Linked DNA regions of Homo sapiens: region 2 is linked to region 1. The links are contacts of gene promoters, found by promoter capture Hi-C in human tissues and cell types (Jung and others, 2019). All regions are on one chromosome and are shown on one strand. Each heading gives the region's core, a stretch centred on a gene start or on the middle of the fragment in contact. The rest is flanking DNA. Distances are from core to core; before and after follow the strand shown. Region 1 holds the start of PLVAP (plasmalemma vesicle associated protein). Region 2 holds the start of NXNL1 (nucleoredoxin like 1).

Region 1 (4,431 bases), core at 1,112-3,611:
ACTTCTCCAAGGCCACAAAGCTGGTAGGTGGCACAGTCAGAACTCAACTCCAGAACTCTAAACTGTAATGCTGGGTTCACTCAGACTACATTGCCCCCATTACGGAGGATGTTCTCCTCCTGCCCAGCTCTGGGGGGCTCTGGGTGGGTCTGGCCAACCCAGAGAAATGGCTGGTTGGGCACCCGTGGCAGCCCCCAGCCCTCCTTCCCCCACTAGCAGCCGCCGACGACGCCGCTGGGAAGGGTCCGGAATCAGGATCAGGAACCACCGGGTAGCTGCAAAGGTCAAAGGTCAGACATGGGTTTCCTGCCCACCCCTGGGAACTTCCTTCTTCTCAACTCTACACTCGCCTCACTGAGCACCACCCTGGAGTACCCCTCCGCTCTGTCAACGACCCCTCCCCACTCTGTTACCCTGGCTAATGGGGGGACGGGTCCCCACGCCCCAGCCTTCACATTGCCCTACAGAGGACAGCAATTGCATGATTGTCACCTGTCCGGAGTCCAGCCTCCTTTCCGGCTCCCTGCTCCTGTTCCTCCAGCCCACCCTGACTCCACAGGGTGGGGGGTACCTGTCCCAGTCTGTCTCCCAAGACTGGGAGTTGCTTGTGGCTGAGGTTGGGACTGACACCTCTTGGGGGGCCCTGGCATCACCCAGCATGGAGCAAACAAAGAAGGGACTCCAGGGAGGGTTTCCCTGGAGCTCCTGATCCTGGGAGATAGGCAGGACACACAGAATCCTTTGCTTCCGGGTCCCCAAATCCCCTCCAGGCCCAACTGGGGGGTGACCCACAGCGACCCCAGAAAACTCCCGTGGTTTTTTTGGTTTGTTTGTTTTTGTTTTTGAGACAGAGTTTCTCTCTTATCTCCCAGGATGGAGTGCAGTGGCCCGATCTCGCTTCACTGCAACCTCCGCCTCCCGGGTTCAAGTGGTTCTCCTGCCTCAGCTTCCCAAGCAGCTGGGATTACAGGTGCTCGCCACCACACACGGCTAATTTTTGTATTTTTAGTGGAGATGGGGTTTCACCATATTGGCCAGGCTGGTCTCGCACTCCTGACCTCAGGTGATCCGCCTGCCTCAGCCTCACAAAGTGCTGAGATTACAGGTGTGAGCCACTATGCCCGGCCGCCCATGGGGTTTTGAGTGTCGGGGGAGGAATCTCAGTCCCACGTATCCACCACTTGTCATTCACCATCTCACGGAGCCCCCAGCAGTGCCTCCAGCAGGAAATGATCCTAATCATAACAACAGCCACAGAGTGACGAGGCACTGGGTATACCCCGTCTCACAAAGGGGAAAAGGGAGGCACAGACATGCGAGGCCTCTTGCCCGAGCTCTCCCGGGACAAAGCCAGCTCTTCCCCGCTCCAAGTTCATTATTCCTTGTGCTGCAGTTTCCTGGAGCATTTACTGAGCATCTAAGTGAACAGGGCACTGGGGGCAATGACAGAGCTTGGGGAGCCAGCGCCACCGCCATCCATGGCTCAGCCCTCCGTGACGCCCTCCTATGCAATTACTAATCACCTACTGCTTCTCCATCCCTAGGCTAGCTAAGAGTTTCACACTTTTTCTGTTTTTTTTTTTTTTTGAAACAGAGTCTTGCTCTATACCCCAGGCTGGAGTGCAATGGCACGATCTCTGCTCACCGCAACCTCCGACTCCTGGGTTCAAGCGATTCTCCTGCCTCAGCCTCCTGGGTAGCTGGAATTACAGGCGAGCACCACCACACCTGGCTAAGTTTTGTATTTTTAGTAGAGACGGGGGGTTTCACCACGGTGACCGGGTTGGTCTCAAACTTCTGACCTCAGGTGATCCGTCCGCCTCAGCCTCCCAAAGTGCTGGGATTATAGGCGTGAGCCACCGTGCCTGGCACATTTCCCACGTTTTGTGGCACTTAATCAGCACCGCCCTGGTGAAGTGGGTGCACGTCTGTAGCCAGCCTGTCTTGAGGTAAGTCAAGTTCGCTGAACTAACAGCGTGAGACCCCGAGGCAACCCCTTCTCCTCCCTGTGCCTCAGTTTCCTCCGCCACACAAGGGAGACAGCAACAGACCTGGCATGATTCAGCGACCTAATCACAGCAGGTACTGAGAACAGCACCCGCCAGCAAGTAAAGGCGAACGCGAGGCTCGAAGAGGCCAGGAATGCCTGACCAGCCAGCCAGCGCCCCACCCAGCATTAATCAGAGGGGTCCAGCCGGTGCCCTGGCTCTGGGCCCCCAGCCCCACCCCCGCCTTCTCACAGCCAGAGTGGGAGTGTTGTGATAACCCGCAGCCCCCGTTTCCTCCGGGCCAGGAAGGAGCCAGGCAGAGGAAGTATTAAGAGGAGTAATATAAGCACTCCCCCCTGCGAGGCGGGGGCCAGAGCAGGCCTGGTGGTGAGCAGGGACGGTGCACCGGACGGCGGGATCGAGCAAATGGGTCTGGCCATGGAGCACGGAGGGTCCTACGCTCGGGCGGGGGGCAGCTCTCGGGGCTGCTGGTATTACCTGCGCTACTTCTTCCTCTTCGTCTCCCTCATCCAATTCCTCATCATCCTGGGGCTCGTGCTCTTCATGGTCTATGGCAACGTGCACGTGAGCACAGAGTCCAACCTGCAGGCCACCGAGCGCCGAGCCGAGGGCCTATACAGTCAGCTCCTAGGGCTCACGGCCTCCCAGTCCAACTTGACCAAGGAGCTCAACTTCACCACCCGCGCCAAGGATGCCATCATGCAGATGTGGCTGAATGCTCGCCGCGACCTGGACCGCATCAATGCCAGCTTCCGCCAGTGCCAGGGTGACCGGGTAAGGCTGTGGGCAGGACACTCGCCCTGGGGACCCTGAGCAAGCCCCCTCACCTCTCTGAGCCTGAGTTTCCTCATCCAAGAGAGGGGGACGATCACAGGACCAATGCTCTCTTTTCTTATGAGACAGAGTCTCGCTCCGTCTCCCAGGCTGGAGTGCAGTGGTGCAATCTCGGCTCACTGCAACCTCTGCCTCCTGGGTTGGAGTGATTCTCCTGCCTCAGCCTCCCGAGTAGCTGGGATTACAGGCATGTGCCATCATAACCGGCTCATTTTTGTATTTTTAGTAGAGATGGGGTTTCACCATGTTGGCCAGGCTGGTCTCAAACTCCTGACCTCAAGTGATACGCCTGCCTTGGCCTCCCAAATTGTTGGGATTACAAGCGTGAGCCACTGCACCCGGCCGATAGATTTTTTTTTTTTCCTTAAGAGACAGGGTCTCCATGTGTATCCTGGGCTGGATGGAGTGCAATTGCTATCACAGCTCACTGCAACCTCAATCTCCTGGACTCAAGTGATCCTCTTGCCTCAGCCTCCTGAGTAGCTGGGACTACAGGCGTGCACCACCACACCCAGCTAATATGTTTATATTTAGCAGAGATGAGGTCTCACTATGTTGCCCAGGCTAGTCTCGAACTCCTGGGCTCAAGCAATCCTCTCACCCCAGCCTCCCAAACTGCTGGGATTACAGGTGTGGGGCACTGCGTCCAGCTAAATTTTTTTTATTTCTTTTCTTTTTTTTGGAGGCAGGGTCTCACTCTGTCACCCAGGCTGGAGCACAGTGATGTGAGCATAGCTCACTGAAGCCTTGACATCCTGGGCTCCAGCAATCCTCCTGCCTCAGCCTTTTGAGTAGCTGGCACTATGGACATGCCACTATGCCCAGGTCATTTTTTATTTTTAGTAGACGTGGGGTCTCGCTATGTTGATCAGGCTGGTCTTGAACTCCTGGGCTCAAACAATCCTCCCTCCTGGACCTCCCAAAGTGCTGAGATTACAGGTGGGCACCACCACACCTGGCAATTTTTTTTTTTTTTTTTGAGACGGAGTCTCGCTCTGTCACCCAGGCTGAAGTGCAGTGGCACAATCTCGCCTCACTGCAACCTCCACCTCCCAGGTTCAAGTGATTCTCCTGCCTCAGCCTCCTGAGTAGCTGGGATTACAGGCGTGTGCAACCATGCCAGCTAATTTTTGTATTTTTAGTAGAGACGGGGTTTCACCATGTTTGCCAGGCTGGTCTCAAACTCCTGACCTCAAGTGAGCCACCCACCTCGGCCTCCCATAGTGCTGGGATTACAGGCATGAGCCACCGTGCCCTGACCTGGTGCCCTGGCTAACTTTTTTTTAGAGACAGAATCTCACTATGCTGCTGAGGCTGGTCTTGAACTCCTAGGCTCACCCTCCTAAAGTGCTGAGATTACAGGCATGAGCCACCATTCCCAGCCAGCAACATTTTTTTTAAACTGTAAGTATATTCCATGCAATATTTGAGATATAATTTTGAAAATAATATTCATTGTCTTTTTGGAATCCAAGTTTAATTCTCCTCCTGTGTGTTAATTGGCAGTCCTGAGCCCATAACTTACTATGCATGAAGCTCCCAGAATGTGCCAGCACTAATCAAAGGGGTCCAGCACACACAAGCTGCA
Region 2 (4,431 bases), core at 986-3,485, 84 kb before region 1:
TCATTAGCCTCTAACTGGAATTCATCAGGTCCTCTCACTGTGAATGCAGACATTGGCTAGCCCTGGAACTTTGTCCCCTGTGGAAATCAAAGATAATTTCATATCACATCCTGATCATAGGAGACACCCTAAAATATCACAGATGCTCACCCTGACTTAGACCTTGAAGTAACTAGTAGAGTCCATGTGAATCAATGTGATTTAATATATTTATGAAAAGGTGTGGCCAGTTGCATGCTCATGCCTGTAATCCCAGCACTTTGGGAGGCCGAGGCTGGAGGATTGCTTGAGCCCAGGACTTGGAGGCCAGCCTGGGCAACATGGCAAAACCTCATCTCTACTAAAAATACAAAAAATTAGCCAGACGTGGTGGCACAGAACTCTAGTGCCAGCTAACAGGGACGCTGAAATAGAAGGATCGCCCGAGCCCTGGAGGTCAAGGCTGCAGTGAGCCATGATCACACCACTGCACTCCAGCCTGGGCACCTTGACAGAGTGAGACCCAGTCTCAAAAAATATACATACAAAAAAGTCAGATATTAAATTTTTTTATTTTTATTTTGGAGACAGAGTCTCACTCTATCCCCCAGGTTGGAGTGCAGTGGGACAATCTTGTCTCACTGCAGCCTCCGCCTCTTGGGTTCAAGCAATTCTCCTCCCTCAGCCTCCCAAGTAGCTGGGATTACAGGCATGCACCACCACGCCTGGCTAATTTTTGCTTTTTTTTTTTTGAGATGTAGTCTCGCTCTGTTGCCCAGGCTGGATGGAGTGCAGTGGTGCAATCTCAGCTCACTGCAACCTCTGCCTCCCAGGCTCAAGCAGTTCTCCTGCCTTAGCCTCCCGAGTAGCTGGGATTACAGGCATGTGCCATCACGAGCCGCTAATTTTTGTATTTTCAGTAGAGATGGGGTTTCACCATGTTGGCCAGGCTGGTTTCGAACTCCTGACCTCAGGTGATCCGCCTGCCTCAGCCTCCCAAAGCGCTGGGATTACAGGCATGAGCCACCACACCCGGTCTAATTTTTGCTTTTTTTTTTTTTTTGAGACGGAATCTCACTCTGTCACCCAGGCTGGAGTGCAGTGGCGCGGTCTCGGCTCACTGCAAGCTCCACCTCCCGGGTTCACGCCATTCTCCTGCCTCAGCCTCCCGAGTAGCTGGGACTACAGGTGCCCGCCACCACACCCGGCTAATTTTTTTTGTACTTTTAGTAGAGACGGGGTTTCACTGTGTTAGTCAGGATGGTCTCGATCTCCTGACCTTGTGATCCACCTGCCTCAGCCTCCCAAAGTGCTGGGATTACAGGCGTGAGCCACCACACCTGGCCAATTTTTGCATTTTTAGTAGAGATGGGGTTTCTCCATGTTGGCCAGACTGGTCTCGAACTCCTGACTTCAGGTGATCCACCCACCTTGACCTCCCAAAGCTTTGGGATTACAGGCGTGAGCCACCGTGCCCAGCCTATTTTTTATTTTTAGACACTAGGTCTTGCTCTGTCACCCAGGATGGAGTGCAGTAGTGCAGTCATTGTAGCCTCAACCTCCCAGGCTCAAGTGATCCTTCCATCTCAGCTGAGTAGCTGGGACTACAGGCTCATGACAACACCATGCCCAGCTAAGTTTTTAATTTTTTCATAGAGATGGGGTCTCACACTGTTGCCCAAGCTGCTCTCAAACTCCTGGTCTCAGGTGATCCTCCTGCCTCAGCCTCCCAAAGTGCTGAGATTACAGGCGTGAGTCACTGTCTGCTACATGGTTTTTTGGTTTTTTTTCTTTCTTTCTTTCTTTTTTTTTCTGAGATGGAGTCTCGCTCTGTCGCCCAGGCTGGAGTGCAGTGGCACAATCTCAGCTCACTGCAACCTCCGCCTCCTGGCTTCAAGCGATTCTCCTGCCTCGGCTGCCCAAGTAGCTGGGATTACAGGTGCCCACCACCACGCCTGGCTAATTTTTTTATTTTTTAGTACAGACAGGGTTTCACCATGTTGGCCAGGCTGGTCTCAAACTCCTGACCTCAGATGATCCTCCCACCTCTGCCTCTCAAAGTGCTGGGATCACAGGCGTGAGCCACCGTGCCCATCTGTTACGTGTTTTCTTAATGCGTTTGCGGCTCTCTCCTGAGAAGGGCCACACAGAGAGCCCTGCCCCCCGCCCTTAGAGGCCCCTCAGGTCAAGGTTTAGGCAGATTAGTGAAGTCCTAAGCTGGTTTTCTAAAGATTTCTATTTCTGGGAGAGGAGCCAGTCAGCAGACCGGGGACCACACGCCGCGCTGTCCCCAGCACCCAACCCAGGTTACCATGGCCTCCCTGTTCTCTGGCCGCATCCTGATCCGCAACAATAGCGACCAGGACGAGCTGGATACGGAGGCTGAGGTCAGTCGCAGGCTGGAGAACCGGCTGGTGCTGCTGTTCTTTGGTGCTGGGGCTTGTCCACAGTGCCAGGCCTTCGTGCCCATCCTCAAGGACTTCTTCGTGCGGCTCACAGATGAGTTCTATGTACTGCGGGCGGCTCAGCTGGCCCTGGTGTACGTGTCCCAGGACTCCACGGAGGAGCAGCAGGACCTGTTCCTCAAGGACATGCCAAAGAAATGGCTTTTCCTGCCCTTTGAGGATGATCTGAGGAGGTGAGGAGGGGCAGGGAGGGCTTCCTGGAGGAGGGGGCATGTTCGCTGAAAGTGAAGCATCCATTCTAACTAGAGTGAATGAGCAGCCCCTGTGTGCCAGTCCATATACTGGGAACTAGGGGGTACAGACAGGGGTGCCCACTTCCACATGCTGGCTTCCATGCCACCCCAGGGAGCTTAGAGCCGAGTGAGAGGAACAGATGCAAAAGACAGAATCAACTATGTAATAGCAAGGCCGGGCATGGTGGCTTAACCCTGTAATCCCAGGACTTTGGCAGGCCGAGGTGGGCAGATCACCTGAGGTCGGGAGTTTGAGACAAGCCTGGTCAACATAGTGAAACCCTGTCTCTACTAAAAATACAAAAATTATCCAGGCGTGGTGGTGGGCGCCTGTAATCCCAGCTGCTTGGGAGGCTGAGGCAGGAGAATCGTTTGAAACTGGGAGGCAGATGCTGCAGTGAGGTAAGATCGTGCCACTGCCCTCCAGCCTGGGTGACAGAGGGAGACTCTGTCTAAAAAATCAAAAAACAAATATATAATAGCGAATTGCAGTAGTGCTCAGAGGACAAAGCTAGGCCACAAAGTGGAAATACAATGAGGGAAACCTTGGTGAGGTTCCGGGGTCAGAGGATGCTTCCCCGAAAAAGTGGCTTTAAAGAGAGACCCCTAGCTGGGCACGGTGGCTCATGCCTGTAGTCCTAGCCACCTGGGAGGCTATGGTAAGAGGATAACTGGAGCCTAGAGTTTGAGGCTGCAGTGAGCTATGATCGCACCACTGCACTCCAGCCAGGGCAATACAGGTAGACCCTGTCTCTTAAAAAAGTAAGGCCAGGTACGGTGGCTCACACCTGTAAATCTAGCACTTTGGGAGGCCAAGGTGAGCAGATCACCTGAGGTCAGGAGTTCGAGACTAGCCTGACCAATATGGCAAAACCCTGTCTCTACTAAAAATACAAAAATTAGCCAGGCCTGGTGGCGCACAGCTGTGGTCCCAGCTACTTGCGAGGCTGAGGCAGGAGAATTGCTTGAATCCAGGAGGCGAAAGTTGCAGTGATCCGAGATGGTGCCACTGCACTCCAGCCTGGGCAACAGAGTGAGACTCTGTCTCAAAAATAAAAATAAAAAATAAAAAATGTAATAAATAAATAAATTACAGGGAGACTCCAATGAGAAGAAAGATAGGAGGATGGAGAATGAGGAAAGGGAAGGGGTTCCAGGCAGAGGGCACAGCAGAAAGGCTTGGAGGCTGTCAGAGAAAGAACAACCAGTTCAGGGAGACTGTAGGTAATTCCGGAGAGGATCAAATTTACAATGTTATTGTTACTGCCCACGCATTTGTCATAATCTTCTTTAGATGTGACAGGTCTGTGGTGCAGAGCCACCTTAACAAGTATAGACATGATCCTCAGAGTAGCAGGGAGCCATGGTGGACATTAGAACAGAGGGAGAGGTAGTCGGATTCAAGCTTTATAAGGAGATGTCCAGCCAGGCATGGTGGCTGACACCTGCAATCCCAGCACTTTTGGAGGCTGAGGCAGGAGGATTGCTTGAGGCTGGGAGTTGAAGACCAGCTTGGGCAACACAGCAAGACACCACCACTCCCATCTCTAAAATTATAAAAAAGAAAAATTATGAAAGGTGGCTTGGTGCGGTGGCTCATGCCTGTAATCCCAGCACACTTTGGGAGGCCGAGGTGGGTGGATCACGTGAGGTCAGGAGTTCAAGACCAACCTGGCCAACATGGTGAAACCCCGTCTCTACTAAAAATACAAAAATTAGCCAGACGTAGTGTTGGGTACCTGTAGTCCCAGCTA

The links. The method cuts DNA at HindIII sites, captures the fragments that hold promoters and counts their contacts. A contact is called where the count stands out against the background at its distance.
Region 2: a contact is called between the fragment with the promoter of NXNL1 here and the fragment with the promoter of PLVAP in region 1, in 1 of the 25 tissues and cell types used here (spleen).

Annotation. Positions count from the first base shown.
Region 1 is chr19:17,375,272-17,379,702 of GRCh38, reverse strand. It overlaps PLVAP (plasmalemma vesicle associated protein), which reads left to right and starts at 2,361. Exons shown (of 6, transcript NM_031310.3): 1 at 2,361-2,783. The coding sequence starts at 2,415. LOC105372298 (a long non-coding RNA gene) reads left to right here. Exons shown (of 3, transcript XR_936362.3): 1 at 1-23; 2 at 217-290; 3 at 873-913. RefSeq lists an enhancer at 1-543. The HindIII fragment of the contact is 34,336 bases long and covers 1-4,431 here.
Region 2 is chr19:17,458,730-17,463,160 of GRCh38, reverse strand. It overlaps NXNL1 (nucleoredoxin like 1), which reads left to right and starts at 2,235. Exons shown (of 2, transcript NM_138454.2): 1 at 2,235-2,617. The coding sequence starts at 2,292. RefSeq lists an enhancer at 1,829-2,329. The HindIII fragment of the contact is 17,798 bases long and covers 1-2,753 here.